3 separate regions of the Homo sapiens genome follow, and regions 1 and 3 are each linked to region 2. The links are contacts of gene promoters, found by promoter capture Hi-C in human tissues and cell types (Jung and others, 2019). All regions are on one chromosome and are shown on one strand. Each heading gives the region's core, a stretch centred on a gene start or on the middle of the fragment in contact. The rest is flanking DNA. Distances are from core to core; before and after follow the strand shown.

What was found. The method cuts DNA at HindIII sites, captures the fragments that hold promoters and counts their contacts. A contact is called where the count stands out against the background at its distance.
Region 1: a contact is called between a fragment that was not itself captured here and the fragment with the promoter of FAM186A in region 2, in 1 of the 25 tissues and cell types used here (IMR-90 fibroblasts).
Region 3: a contact is called between a fragment that was not itself captured here and the fragment with the promoter of FAM186A in region 2, in 1 of the 25 tissues and cell types used here (spleen).

What each region holds. Positions count from the first base shown.
Region 1 is chr12:50,067,281-50,072,149 of GRCh38, reverse strand. The region is part of intron 3 of ASIC1 (acid sensing ion channel subunit 1); the gene reads right to left. Among named protein-coding and RNA genes, the nearest start is that of ASIC1, 12 kb to the right of the region's middle. The HindIII fragment of the contact is 4,189 bases long and covers 985-4,869 here.
Region 2 is chr12:50,394,137-50,398,522 of GRCh38, reverse strand. It overlaps FAM186A (family with sequence similarity 186 member A), which reads left to right and starts at 1,914. Exons shown (of 8, transcript NM_001145475.3): 1 at 1,914-2,230. The coding sequence starts at 2,039. The HindIII fragment of the contact is 8,551 bases long and covers 1-4,386 here.
Region 3 is chr12:50,656,590-50,661,432 of GRCh38, reverse strand. It overlaps DIP2B (disco interacting protein 2 homolog B), which reads right to left. Exons shown (of 38, transcript NM_173602.3): 4 at 1,114-1,239. It also overlaps the pseudogene RNU6-238P. Among named protein-coding and RNA genes, the nearest start is that of ATF1, 110 kb to the left of the region's middle. RefSeq lists an enhancer at 1-29. The HindIII fragment of the contact is 3,484 bases long and covers 1-3,255 here.

The DNA.
Region 1 (4,869 bases), core at 1,830-4,329, 330 kb after region 2:
CTTCTCCATTTGCAGAGACCCTAGAGTGTGTTGGGGATGTGAGGCAGGGTGTCAGGTTCTAGCAGAACTGAGTGATGTGGAACCTTTGGCCTCAGCTTTGCTGCCAGGGACAAAGAGGCCTCAGAAGCAGAGTCTTGAGCTCTAGCCCCTCTCCATCCTTCTGCCACTGCCCTCAGACTGGCCTAAACAACAGCCACTGTCCTCCTCTTTCTGCCACTGCCCTCCTCTTTTGCCTAAACAACAGCCTCTCAACTGGTCTCCCTGCCTCCCTGCAGTTTCTCCCCACCTTTAGTTCGAGTTGTGTGACTCTGACCATTCTTCTGCTTAAAGACCTTCTCTAGCCAGGTATGGTGGCACGCACCTGTAGTTCCAGCTGCTTGGGAGGTTGAGGCAGAAGAATCGCTTGAACCCGGGAGGCGGAGGTTGCAGTGAGCCGAGATCGCACCACTGCACTCCAGCCTGGGCGACAGAACAAGGCTCCATCTCAAAAAAGTAAAGACCTTCTCTCACTCCCCACTGCCTCCTGGCAAAATTTAGTCCTCTCTTGTAGCCCCACAAAGCTGAAAGCAGCCAGGCGTGGTGGCTCACGCCTGTAATCCCAGCACTTTGGGAGGTCGAGGTGGACAGATCAAGAGGTCAGGAGATCGAGACCATCCTGGCTAACACAGTGAAACCCTGTCTCTACTAAAAATACAAAAAAAAAAAACCAAAAAAATTTAGCCAGGTGTGCTGGCAGGCGCCTGTGGTCCCAGCTACTCGGGAGGCTGAGGCAGGAGAATGGTGTGAACCCAGGAGGTGGAGCTTGCAGTGAGCCGAGACTGAGCCACTGCACTCCAGCCTGGGGGACAGAGCAAGACTCCGTCTCAAAAAAAAAAAAAAAAAAGCTGAAAGCAATGTACCCTCCACCTCAGGCCAGCATCCAGCCACCACCACCTGTCCCCAGACACACGAGGCTCATCCACAGTCCTGTGCCTTCCCTGGACTCCATCTGGAGAATTCCTACTCATTTTTCAAGATCCTACTCACATGTTACCTCCTCCAAGAATCCTCCCGACTCCACAGGGTGCTGTTAGTGCCCACCCAGGGAATAGACTAAAGGGTCCAGTTCTGCTCAAGGCCCTACAGCTATGAGTAATGACCGAGAGCAAAAGAGCAGGACCAAGAGACCATGTGCAGGAACAGGAAGCAAGGAAGGCCAGGAACACCCAGGGCAACCAGAGATAAGTCATTGCAGAGATGAGGAGAGACTCCCCCACCTTCAGCTGCTGTCCTCAGGCTTCTCCTGCATGAACCTGTGTGTCCTGTCCTGTGTGTATCTTTTTCCTGCCTGCCAGATCTTGAGCTCTCAGAGGGCAGGGGCCTCCTCCTTTGCATTCCCCAGGAAGTGCTTCAGAGAGGACTTCCAGACTTGGGTGGAGTGGGGCTGAGGCTTGGGCTGAGGAAGCTGCAGCTGCCCATGCGTTCCCACTAGAGGGCACTGTCCCCCTCCTTCAGATGTTTTGGAAGGGGAAGTAGATTGATTTCCAGAAGGAAGCAGCTAAGGCAGCGGGAGCTTCCAGCTTGGGAGCCCCAGCAAAGACAAGGGTGTGCACGCACAGACAGTGCCAAAGGACAGTAAGTTGGGTGCAACTGAATACCTCTTCCCCCACAGCAACCAAGACCACACTGCACACTTGCACATTACCACACAGACACGCAGCCCTGGTGTGGGGCGACACACACACCCCAACACACACACACACGCCCCAACACACACACACCCCAACACGCACACACCCCAACACACACACACACCCAACTGCATGTCCTCTCTCCTCCATCGCCTGTATGCTTGTTCAAACAAATGCTTATTCTTCTAACATTCTTTCCCATCTTCATCTTGTTCAAGTAATTGGGGGATGAGGAAAGTGTCAAAGGGCATACACAGAGGGCCCCTGGAGAGGTGCCCAAGCAGACACACACACAGAGCTGCACTCAGTCCTGAACCCTCTGTCCAAGCATACAGCGCCCCCCACCCAGACCTTCTCTTTAGCAGTGTGTGCTGAGTGGTTTCTGACTTTTTCTATATCCCTTTCTTCATTCCAGCCACCCCTCATGTCTGTGTAATGCTTCATGGTTTTCAATTGTTATCTCATGGGATCCTCACACAACCCAGTGAAATAAGCAGGTTTGAGTAACTTCATTCCCATCTGACAAGTGAGAAAACTGAGCCACACCAGCCTATTCAAGTCTTAGGGAGAGCAAGAAGTGGGCTGGAGGCTGGAATGAGGTCATCTGTCTCCAAATCCCTTGCTTCTTCATTCTTGCATTTACTCATTGACACAGTGGAGAACACATCATGGACCTGCCCTCATGGAGCTTACTGTCGAACAGGGAAGACAGACCTCAATTCAAAAATGAAAAAAACAAATATCTAATTGCAAACCATAAGTGCTATGAAAAAAAAAAATGACTCTATCAGAGTGAATGACAGAGGGACTTGCCCCAGACTGGGGAATTAAGGAAGCTTTCTCTGAGGAAATGATGTTTGAATTACAGTCTAAAGAATAAAGAGGAGGCTGGGCGCGGTGGCTTATGCCTGTAATCCCAGCACTTTGGGAGGCTGAAATGGGCGGATCACTTGAGGCCAGGAGTTCAAGACCAGCCTGGCCACCATGGTGAAACCCCTTATCTACTAAAAATACAAAAATTAGCCAGGCATGGTGACACATGACTGTAATCTCAGCTACTTGGGAGGCTGAGGCATGAGACTTGCTTGAACCAAGGATGTGGAAGTTGCAGTGAGCTAAGATTGCACCACTGCACTCCAGCCCAGGCAATAGAACGAGATTCTGTCTCAAAAAAATAAATTAAATAATAAATAAATAAATAAATAAATAAATAAATAAATAAAATAAAAAATAAATAAAGAGGAGTAATTAGGTAATGGTGTGTGTGTGTATATATTTGTGTGTGTGCACGTGCGCACTAGCGCTTACCGCTGTGGAGGAGGGAGGATATTCCAGAGAGAGAACTGAGTGTATGCAAAGGCCTGGAAGGAGAGAGATGAGAAGGGGCAAGTGTGGCTGGAGAGGTGGGTAAAGGCAGGGAGGACCCAGGTCACTCAGGGCCTTAAAGGCCACGGTGAGGATTCTGGCTGAGGGACAATGAAAGACTCCCCATGGAAGGCGTTCAAGTGATCAGAGCTTTGATTTGAAAAGACCACTCTGGCTGCAGAGTGAAGGATATAGAAGGGCTGCTGGAAGGCCTGTCGAGGAGCCATTGCCGTGGCCCAAAGAGACATGCAGTGGTGGGATGGGCCGGAACAGGGGGTAGAGTGGAGATGTTTATGAGGCAAAATTGGCAGATCCTGTCAAGGCAGGTGAGGGAGATGGAGTGTCAGGGATGATTTCTGGTTTGCATGACGGGGTGAACAGTGGGTGGCTCACTAGATCAGGCACACAGGTAAAGAACTAGTTTGGGAGGTAAGATGATGACTTTGGTTTTGCACATGCAGGTTTTGAGGAGTCTTAGGGACATCCAAGTAGAGACGTTAAGTGGGAAAATTGGCGACTGGAGCTGATGCTAAGAGGAGAGAGCTGGGCTGAGACATAAATTTGGCAGTTGTCAGTGTGTAGATGGTAATTGAAGTGATGAGTGAAGATGAGACTGCCCAAGAATAGAATATAAAGTTTAAAAAAAAGATAGAAAAAAAGGTCTGATTTGGCAGTATCCACTAAAGCTAAACAGAATCATACCCTATGACTTAACCATAGCTCCATAGCTAGTCATGTGCCCAGGAGAAATGAGTGCATATATCAACCAAAAAACATGAACAAAAATGTTCATAGTAGCTTTATAGATAAGAGCCAAAAACTAGTAACAACCCAAATGTCTAGCATCAGTAGAATGGATCAATTGTGGCATATTCATATAATGAGATACTATACAGCATCAAAAAAGAACTAACCACTTCCACACACAACAACATGGCTAAATCTCACAGACGTAATCACAAGCAAAACAAAACAAAACAAACAGACACAAAAGAGTATACACTGTATGGAGGATACATATACTCCAAGAAGTTCAAGAATGAGGGAAATTGATCTATACTGTTAGAACAGTGGTTAACTCTTATGGGGTAGCATTGACTAGGAAACAGCCTGAAGGAACTTTCTGGGGTACTGGAAATGTTTTATACCAATGCAATATGCAAAATACTACACTGTAAGACATACCAGTGTAAAAATTTTTCAAGCTGGTGCATTGTACTCTTATGATTTAAAAGAAGATTAAAGCTTGAGACTGAGCCTTGAGTAGTGATGACACTAAATGGCCAAGTAGAAGAAAATGAACTGGCAAAGAGACAGAGGAGTGGGTAGACATAGGAGGAAAACAAAGAGAGTATGATTGTCAGGAAAGCGAATAGTTCAAAAAAGAGGTGGTGGGGTCCGGGCGCAGTGGCTCACGCCTGTAATCCCAGCACTCCGGGAGGCCGAGACAGGCGGATCACCTGAGGTCGGGAGCTCAAGACCAGCCTGACCAACATGGAGAAAACCCGTCTCTACGAAAAATACAACAACAACAAAAAAATAGCCGCGCATGGTGGCACGCATCTGTAATCCAGCTACTCAGGAGGCTGAGGCAGGAGAATTGCTTGAACCCAGGAGGCGGAGGTTGCAGTGAGCTGAGATGGTGCCACTGCACTCCAGCCTGAGCAACAAGAGCAAAACTCCGTCTCAAAAAAAAAAAAAAAACAACAGCAGAAGAGTTGGTGGGCAACTATTTTAAATGCTATTGAGAGATCAAGAATAATAAAAAAAATATTTGCTGGATTCGGCAACATGAAGGTGACCACTGGCCTTAGCTAGAACCATTTAGGAGGAA
Region 2 (4,386 bases), core at 665-3,164:
GATTTTGTCTCAAAGAAAAGCCTTCATGTCTAGTTGCTGATTGATGAATTCCATGCTGCATAAAAGATGCAAGTGAGAGAGAAAGAATAATGCAAATTTAGTTTAGTTGACAACTAAACTTTGGGAGGCCGAGGTGAGTGAATCACTTGAGGAGTTTGAGACCAGCCTGGCCAACACAGTGAAACCCTATATCTACCAAAAATATAAAAAATTAGCCAGGTGTAGGCCGAGTGCAGTGGCTCACACCTGTAATCTCAGCACTTTGGGAGGCCAAGGCATGCAGATCACGAGGTCAGGAGATCGAGACCATCCTGGCTAACATGGTGAAACCCCGTCTCTACTAAAAAATACAAAAAACTAGCCGGGTGTGGTGGCGGGCGCCTGTAGTCCCAGCTACTCGGGAGGCTGAGGCAGGAGAATGGAGCAAACCTGGGAGGCGGAGCTTGCAGTGAGCCGAGATCATGCCACTGCACTCCAGCCTGGGCCACAGGCGAGATTCCGTCTCAAAAAAAAAAAAAAAAAAAATTAGCCAGGTGTGGTGGCGCATGCCTGTAATCCCAGCTACTCGGGAGGCTGAGGTAGAAGAATCGTTTGAACCTGGGAGGCAGAGGTTACAGTCTGCTGAGATGGCACTACTACACTCCAGCCTGGACAACAGAGTGAGACTCTGCCTCAAAAAAAAAAAAAGAAAGAAAGAAAGGAAGGAAGGAAGGAAGGAAGGAAGGAAGGAAGGAAGGAAGGAAGGAAGGAGAAAGAAAGAAAGAAAGAAAAAACAATACATACACCTGTAGTAAAACTATGTAAAAATAGATAACACAAATATGTAAAATTCATGATTGTCATTTCCTCTGGAATGGGACAGTGGGGAAGGAAGGAACCAGGGGTGGGGGACATCAAAGAGGACTTCAACCTTCTGTAATGCTTTTTTATTATTAAAAAAATTGGAAGCAAATATTAAACAAAAATTAGCCAGGCGTGGTGGCGCGCACCTGTAATTCCAGCTACTCAGGGAGGCTGAGGCACAAGAATCTCTTGAACCTGGGAGGCAGAGGTTGCCATGAACCAAGATCACACCACTGCACTCCAGCCTGGGTAACAAAGTGAGACTCTGTCTCCAAAAAAAAGGGAAAGAAAAGAAAAGAAAAGAAAAAAGAGTAAGCAGTGCAAAGAGTGTGATCCTCATCCAAATGATATCATCCAAGTTACTTCATCCAAATGATATCATCCAAGTTACTACATGTCTAGGAAAAGTTAAGGGGCAGCTGAGGAAGTAGTTGTAACCTTTATTCCATTACAGGCTTAAAAATACTTAAGCAAAACCCCAGGAAGAGAGAAGAACCAGGAGTTATATTTGACACACCTAGATTTTTTTTTTTTTTTTTTTGAGACAGTTTCACTCTTGTTGCCCAGGCTGGAGTGCAATGACGTGATCTCGGCTCACCACAACCTCCGCCTCCCGGGTTCAAGTGATTCTCCTGCCTCAGCCTCCCAAGTAGCTGGGACTACACGCATGTGCCACCTCACATGGCTAATTTTGTATTTTTTTTTTTTTAGTAGAGACGGGGTTTCTCCATGTTGGTCAGGCTGGTCTCGAACTCCGACCTCTGGTGATCCACCTGCCTCGGCCTCCCAAAGTGCTGGGATTACAGGCATGAGCCACTGCACCCGGCCAACACATCTAGATTTTAAGCTTATTTAAGCAGGGCTATATCTTCTGTTTATTTTAGCATTCCTGTTGTCTATTATTTCCTACCCTCCTTCCCCCCTCACCCTTCTACCATGGCAGCATATAGAATGACCAGTTCTCTGCACATAGTAAGCATTCTTTACATGTTTGATCAATGATAATGTCACAATGGGTCTATTGTGACATCAACAGGACGGGAATATCATGGGAGCCACCAATTAGTAGCAGAGTATGCCACAACTTCTAGGATCAGGAAAGACCTCTCCTAGCTTCCTACTGGATATCTTTATTAGCATTTTTGTAGATTCTGTGAAAAAGAAGAAATAAAACGAAATCACCCACATTTTCAAAATGTTCTTCAAAATGAAAAATGAGATAGACAATGACCCTGAATCAGAAAAATGCATCAAGGATTCCACCATCATGAGAAGAGAGCCCCAAAATATCCTTAGTCCTTTGATGCTCCCTAACCTTGAGATCCCATTCTCAGTAAAGGATATCATCTCTAGGATTGAGCGCGCACAGCTCCATCGAGCCAGAGAGGTAGGTAGTGAATCTGAAGTTTACAGACTGCAATTTTCTTTTTAAACTTTCTGTGACCAAGTACATTTTTGTTTATTTTAGAAATCACTTTCATGATATTTGACTGTATTTAGGGTAGCTTTGACTTCAAATGACAATTTCACCTGACACCGACTGTGGATATAACAAGCTCCAATTTGACATTAATCTCTTTATATCAGGTTTAATAAAGCCATTTAAGAAATAAATCAAGCCGGGCATGGTGGCTCACGCCTGTAATCCCAGCACTTTGGGAGGCCGAGGCGGGCGGATCACTGAGGTCGGGAGTTCAAGACCAGCCTGACCAACATGGAGAAACCACCGTTTCTACTAAAAATACAAAAAGTTAGCTGGGCATGATTGCACTTGCCTGTAATCCCAGCTACTCAGGAGGCTGAGGTAGGAGAATTGCTTGAACCAGGGAGGTGGAGGTTGTGGTGAGCCAAGATTGCACCATTGCACTCCAGCCTGGGCAACAAAAGCGAAACTCTATCTCAAAAAAAAAAAAAGTTTTCATTTGTTCCCTATGGAGGTTTTATCAAACAGCTATTAGCCAGATAGAATTTAGATGGCTTTGAATTCTAGCTCCTTTTATTTTCCCTGTACACTTCAAGGAGAAATTAGGAGAAATTCAAGGAGAATAGAAAGAGTGTTTACATAATGTCAGCCGGGTGCGGTGGCTTATGCCTGTAATCCCAACACTTTGGGAAGCTGAGATGGGAGGATCCCTTGAGGCCAGGAGTTAGAGACCAGCCTGGTCAACATAGTGAGACCCCATCTATATTTTTAGAAAAATAAATAAATAAATAAATACATAAGAATCTAATAGACCCCCAAACAATTAAGGTTATACTGCATTTTATTCTCTCGCAGTACAACAAAATCAGGCCAGGCACAGCGATTCATGCCTGTAATCCCAATGCTTTGGGAGGCCAAGGCAGGAGGATCTCTTGAGCCCAGGAGTTCTAGACCAGCTTGGCCAACATAAGGAGACCTCCTGTCTACTAAAAATAAAAAAATTAGCCAGGCATGTTAGCTCAAACCTGTAGTCCCAGCTCCTTGGGAGGCCAGAGGATCCCCTGAACCCAGGAGACTGCAGTGAGCACCATGCTTGCACTACTGCACCCCACTCAGCATGGGTGACATAGCGAGACCCTGTCTCAAAAACAAACAAACAAACAAAAATCAGTCATGTTTGATGAAATTGATTAAGGGGGGGTTCTTTCCTATGTTTAAGGAAAGCTAAACTGGTCACAGTGGCTCATGCCTGTAATCCCAGCACTTTAGGAGGTCAAGGTGAGAGGCTCACTTGAGCCCAGGAGTTTGAGACCATCCCAGGCAACAAAGCAAGACCCTGTCTCTAGAAAAAATTTAAAAATTAGCCAGGAAGTGGTGGTATGCACTTGCAGTCCCAGCTACTCGGGAAGGTCCCTTGAGACCAGGAATTTGAGGTTACAGTGAGCTATAGATTGTGCCACTACATTCCAGTCTGGTGACAGAGGGACTCTATCTCTAAAAAAAAAAAAAAAAAAAAAAAAAAAAGAGTGTTAGCCAGGCACAGTGGCTCACTCCTGTAATCCCAGCACTTTGGAGGCCAAGACAGGAGGATCGCTTGAGTCCTGGAGTTCAAGACCAGTCTGGGCAACATAGTAAGACCTCTGTCTCTCTCTCTCTATAGGTAGATAGGTAGATAGATAGATAGATAAATAGATTTTTTTTTTTGAGGCAGACTATCATGCTATTGTTCAGGCTGAGTGCAGTGGCGCGATCTTGGCTCACTGCAACCTCCATCTCCTGGGTTCAAGTGATTCTCCTGCCTCAGCTTCCCAAGTAGCTGGGACTACAGGCACCGGCCACCAAGCCTGGCTAATTGTTTTTGTATTTTTAGTAGGGACAGGGTTTCACCATGTTAGCCAGTATGGTCTTGATCTCCTGACCTTGTGACCCACCCCCACTCCAAAGTGCTGAGATTACAGGCGTGAGCCACTGCGTCCAGCCCATTTTATATATTCTTTTAAAAAACAAAAACAAAAACAAAAAAACAGAGTGCTTGGCCAGGTGTGGTAAGTAGCTCATGCCTGTAATCCTAGCATCTTGGGAGGCAGAGGCAGGTGGATCACTTGAGCTCAGGATTTCAA
Region 3 (4,843 bases), core at 264-2,763, 260 kb before region 2:
CCAAAACCGAGAAGAAAACTATTAATATTAATCTGGATCAGGGAATAGGATCAGTATGAACAGCTCAACAACTTGACAGCTGTGAATCAAAGTCAACCATAAGGCAACCTAGGAATCTCCCCAAAGACGTATTAAGTAGTTTAGGCCAAAAAAGTATGGGGAAATTTGTTCTCAAAGATTTCATTACCAGTAACATGAAAGTAGAAAGAGAGACACTATATTGAGGCTCTGAAATAGATTTACTATGTTTAGTCTCAAAGGCCTATATCAAGATCTTGTCTGGGATTCGATCTAAAAAAAATTTTTTTCGAGCTTCCACTAGAGAAGTTCAAAAAAAATTTTTTTTAAGGTTTTAAAAAAACTTTGGGAGAGATTCTGAACAGACAAGACAACTTAGATTGTTTCTAGTTATTCCTCAAATATGAAGTTATAACTCTTTAAATTTACCTTAGGGAGCATAAGGATTGAAGTCTGGTGAACAGGGATGGGATGAAGATACCTAGTTCTCACTGATCTCATGACCCCGTTATAAAAAGTAGATTCTTAAAAAATAAATAAATGTGTACAAAATACATTAACACACACACACATAAACACACTTATATACGTTTTGCAGGTCCATCACAACTTTGCATGATTGCTCTTCCATAATTGTTAATGACACAAAAACTTTTGTCCCAAGTCCAACAATTCTCATGCCTGCTGCAGAGACGAAGCATTTGGTTTAGGAGTACAAATGAATTAGATATATGACTACAAGTAGTATATTGGGTGACAATGAAAGTGGCTATTTAACACAGCAGGATTTTGGCCTAAGCTTTGGCCTGTATTTATGACTACATAAGTCTGGGGATTACAGCCAAAAAAAAAAAAGACTGGAAATTCAGAAGGAAAGTTTTTTTGTTTAGTTTTGAATAGTTTTACTCTTAAGACATCTTTTTGTGTGTTGTTTACGAGATGACAAGCAAAATCTGCCACCTCAGAGTGTTCTCTTACATTCCTCTAATGGCGGGGAGAAGATTCTGGTTCTTACCTCAGAAAAGAAAAAGCAGAACTTATTTCAGGAACATCAAGGTATTAACTGTCAGAGAGAAAAAGCTCTGATAAACCTACCAGGAGGTGTGCAGGCATCTGCAGGAGACTGAACAAATGTGGATCGCCTTTTGGTTGGCATGGGCAAAGCCATCTTCTGTTCTTTATGCTTTGCCAGTGCAGCCTGAACTGCTTCTGTGTGGATATCTGAAAAAGCAAACATTTGCATTTATTAGCTTCCGGCTCTTGAAAGTGTTTACCACTGTGAGCTGAACTATCACTGCCTCAATTGTTTAAAAAAAAAAAAAAAGGTAAAGGGGACGTTCAGATGATTTTTATTTATAATTTGATTAAGACCAATTAGAAATAAAAATCAAAAACAAAAATAAAAGAAGCCAGGGATAATTTTACGGAGGAGGAAAATGAAGTCCAGAATGATGTGTGACTCCTTAACACACCAGACAAAGAGTTGACAGAGATGTGGGGAGGTGGGTGGGGACAGAATACTGAGTCTAACATGCATCTGTGCCAAGCAGGAAATTCTGCCTCAAATGGAATGAGCGCTGTGCAGGTGCCTGGAGAACACTCATTATTTTTCAAGAAAAGAAGCTTAGGATTTTCTTAACTGAAAGAAAATTTCTTTCAAGTCTGAAAGAAAACTTGGTTGAGACCCCTCAGTTCTATGCCACAGGAAGAGAAGGATTTATTTTGATCTAGAAAAACATAAGGGCAGATGTTAATTGTTTGCCACTTTGGGCACAAAAAATTTCAGCTCTCTACTTGAATGTCTAATAGGAATCTCAAAATTAACACATCCAAACAAAACTCTTCATTTTCTACCCCCACTCCAAAGGTCACTCTATAGTTCCACAAAATTGAATCATACTGTACACAGTATTTTGTATCCCGCTAAAAAAAAAAAAAACTCTTACAAAATCTTACTGAGGTAGATAACAGCTGAGGTAGCTTCCTAAGTCACAAAAAAAATAGTTTCCTTTTGTCTAGGAATGGGCCTAATCCACAAACAAACTATCCTTCCATACCGCTCTGTAAAGTAAATATACCCCTTATAAGAGCTAGACCAATGAGATCCTCTTTTTTAAATTTAAACTCTGAATCAAGAAACTGCAGGTCCTAAATGGAATCACTTTAACGACAATGTGACAATGCCCTAGAAAGAAGGAAGGTTTTAAACTTCAAGGTTGAGATTCCCAGAGTTATCTCTCCTTTCTAGGGGTTTTTCAAATGTTGATTTGTTTCTATGACCTACCTCAGCTATTTAAGGTAGCCTATGTAAGTTGACCTGTTTTTTTTGAGATGGAGTGTCGCTCTGTCGCCCAGGCTGGAGTGCAGTGGCGCAATCTCAGCTCACTGCAACCTCTGCCTCCCAGGTTCAAGCCATTTTCCTGTCTCAGCCTCCCAAGTAGCTGGGACTACAGGTACACGCCACCACGCCCAGCTAATTTTTGCATTTTTAGTAGAGGTGGGGTTTCACCATCTTGGTCAGGCTGGCCTTGAACTCCTGACCTTGTCATCTGCCCGCCTCGGCCTACTAAAGTGCTGGGATTACAGGCGTGAGCCACCACGCCCGGCCAGCTTCTGTTTCTTGCAACCAAAAAACCTCCACTAATACAAGGAGAAACACCTCACTGTGTACAGACCAACAACATAACTTTTAAGGGCTGCATAGTATTTCACTGCATGAATGTGCCATGATTTACTTACACAATTCCTTATTATCAGATACTAGGTTATTTCCAAATTTTTGAAATTATTCATAGAAAGAATAATTCAGTATTTTCACCTTAGCACATGTCTAATTATTTTCTTAGAATTAATTACAAAAACTGCTGAGATCAAAGTATATGTACTTATTTCTTCAGAAATGTTTCAAACATATTTCCTAAAAATAAGGAATTTTCTCTTATATAACCCCAGGACATTATTCAAAATCCAGAAAAATTGGCCGGGTGCAATGGCTCACACCTGTAATCCCAGCACTTTGGGAGGCCTAAGTGGGTGGATAACTTGAAGTCAGGAGTTCAAGACCAGCCTGGCCAACATGGTAAAACCCTGTCTCTACTAAAAATACAGAAATTAGCCAGGCATGGTAGCACGCACCTGTAATTCCAGCTACTCAGGAGGCTGAGGCAGAAGAATCACTTGAACCCAGCAGGCGGAGGTTGCAGTGAGCCGAGATCACACCATTGTACTCCAGCCTGGGCGACAGAGCAAGACTCTGTCTCAAAAAAACAAAACAACAAACCCCAGAAATTCTTGTTTTTCTTTTTTTTCTTTCTTTTTTTTTTTTTTTGAGATGAGGTCTTGCTATGTATGCTGCCTAGGGTTGGTCTTGAACTGGGCTCCAGCGATCCACCCGCCTCAGTCTCCCGAAGTGCTGGGATTACCAGCCAAAATACAGAAATTCAACATTGATACAAACTATTATCTAACCCACAATCCATATTCCAACATAGTCTATTGTCCCAATAATGTCCTCTATAGGTTTTCCCTCCCACCTTTTTTCCTGATCTGGGATCTACTGGAGGAAATCCTACTTAGTTGTCCTGTCTCTTGATTCCCCTATAATCCAGAACTGTTTCTCAGCCTTACTTTGCCTTTTATTATCTTGATATTTTTGTACAGACTAGTTATTTTGTAAAATGTTCTTTAATTTTGGCTTGCTTGATATTTCCTTATAATTAATTTCAGGTTATGCAATTTGGCAGAAATACCATAGAAATAATTTGTTGTCTTCTTCTTTTTTTTTTTGTAAAGATGGGGTGTCACTACATTGCCCAGGCTGGTCTCCAACTACTGGTCTCAAGGAATCCTCCTGCTTCAGCCCCCAAAATGCTGCACTGGGATTACAAGCATGAGCCACCATGCCCAGCCAGAAATAATGTCTTTCTCAAAACATGATGTCAGGAGGTGTCTGCTCCACTATGGTAACATAACTCTAATTGCAAAGTTGGTTACTTTGGTCACTATGGTATCTGCTAAATAAACTCACTGTAAACTTAACCATTCTTCCGTTTGCAATTAATAAGTAATTCATGGGAGGATACTTTTGAGACTATATAAATGTTACATACTTTGTCAACCTTTCAACTCACTAGTTTTAGCATCCATTGATAATTCTTGGTGGAATCAACTTTTTTTTTTTTTTTTTTTTTTGTAAATAGAGATGGGGTCTCCCTATGTTGCCCAGGCTGTCTCAAACTCCTGGGCTCAAGGGATTCTCCTGCCTTGGCATCCAAAAGTGAATAGGATTACAGGTGTGGGCCACCACACCTGCCATTTTTTTAAAAAATATTTTTTATTTTTAATGGAACATTTCACGAGTTTGTGTGTCACCTTGCTCAGGGGCCATGTTAATCTTCCCTGTATCGTTCCAATTTTAGTATATGTGCTGCTGAAGTGAGCACGGAATCAATTATGATAATAACAATTACAATATGATAATTTTATAGCTCTACCATTTCTTCCATATTTATTAGTTGGTATTTATTATAAGAAAAAGTTTTCCTGGCCAGCATGGTGACTCATGCCTGTAATTCCAGCACTTTGGGAGGCCGAAGAGGGTGCATCACCTGAGGTCAGGAGTTCGAAACCAGCCTGACCAACGTGGCAAAACCCCATCTCCACTGAAAATACAAAAATTAGCTGAGCATGGTGGCGCATGCCTGTAGTCCCAGCTACTTGGGAGGCTGAGGCACAAGAATTGCTTGAACCTGGGAAGCGGAGGTTACAGTGAGCCAAGATTGTGCCACTGCACTCCCGCCTGGGTGAAAGAGCGAGACTCCATCTC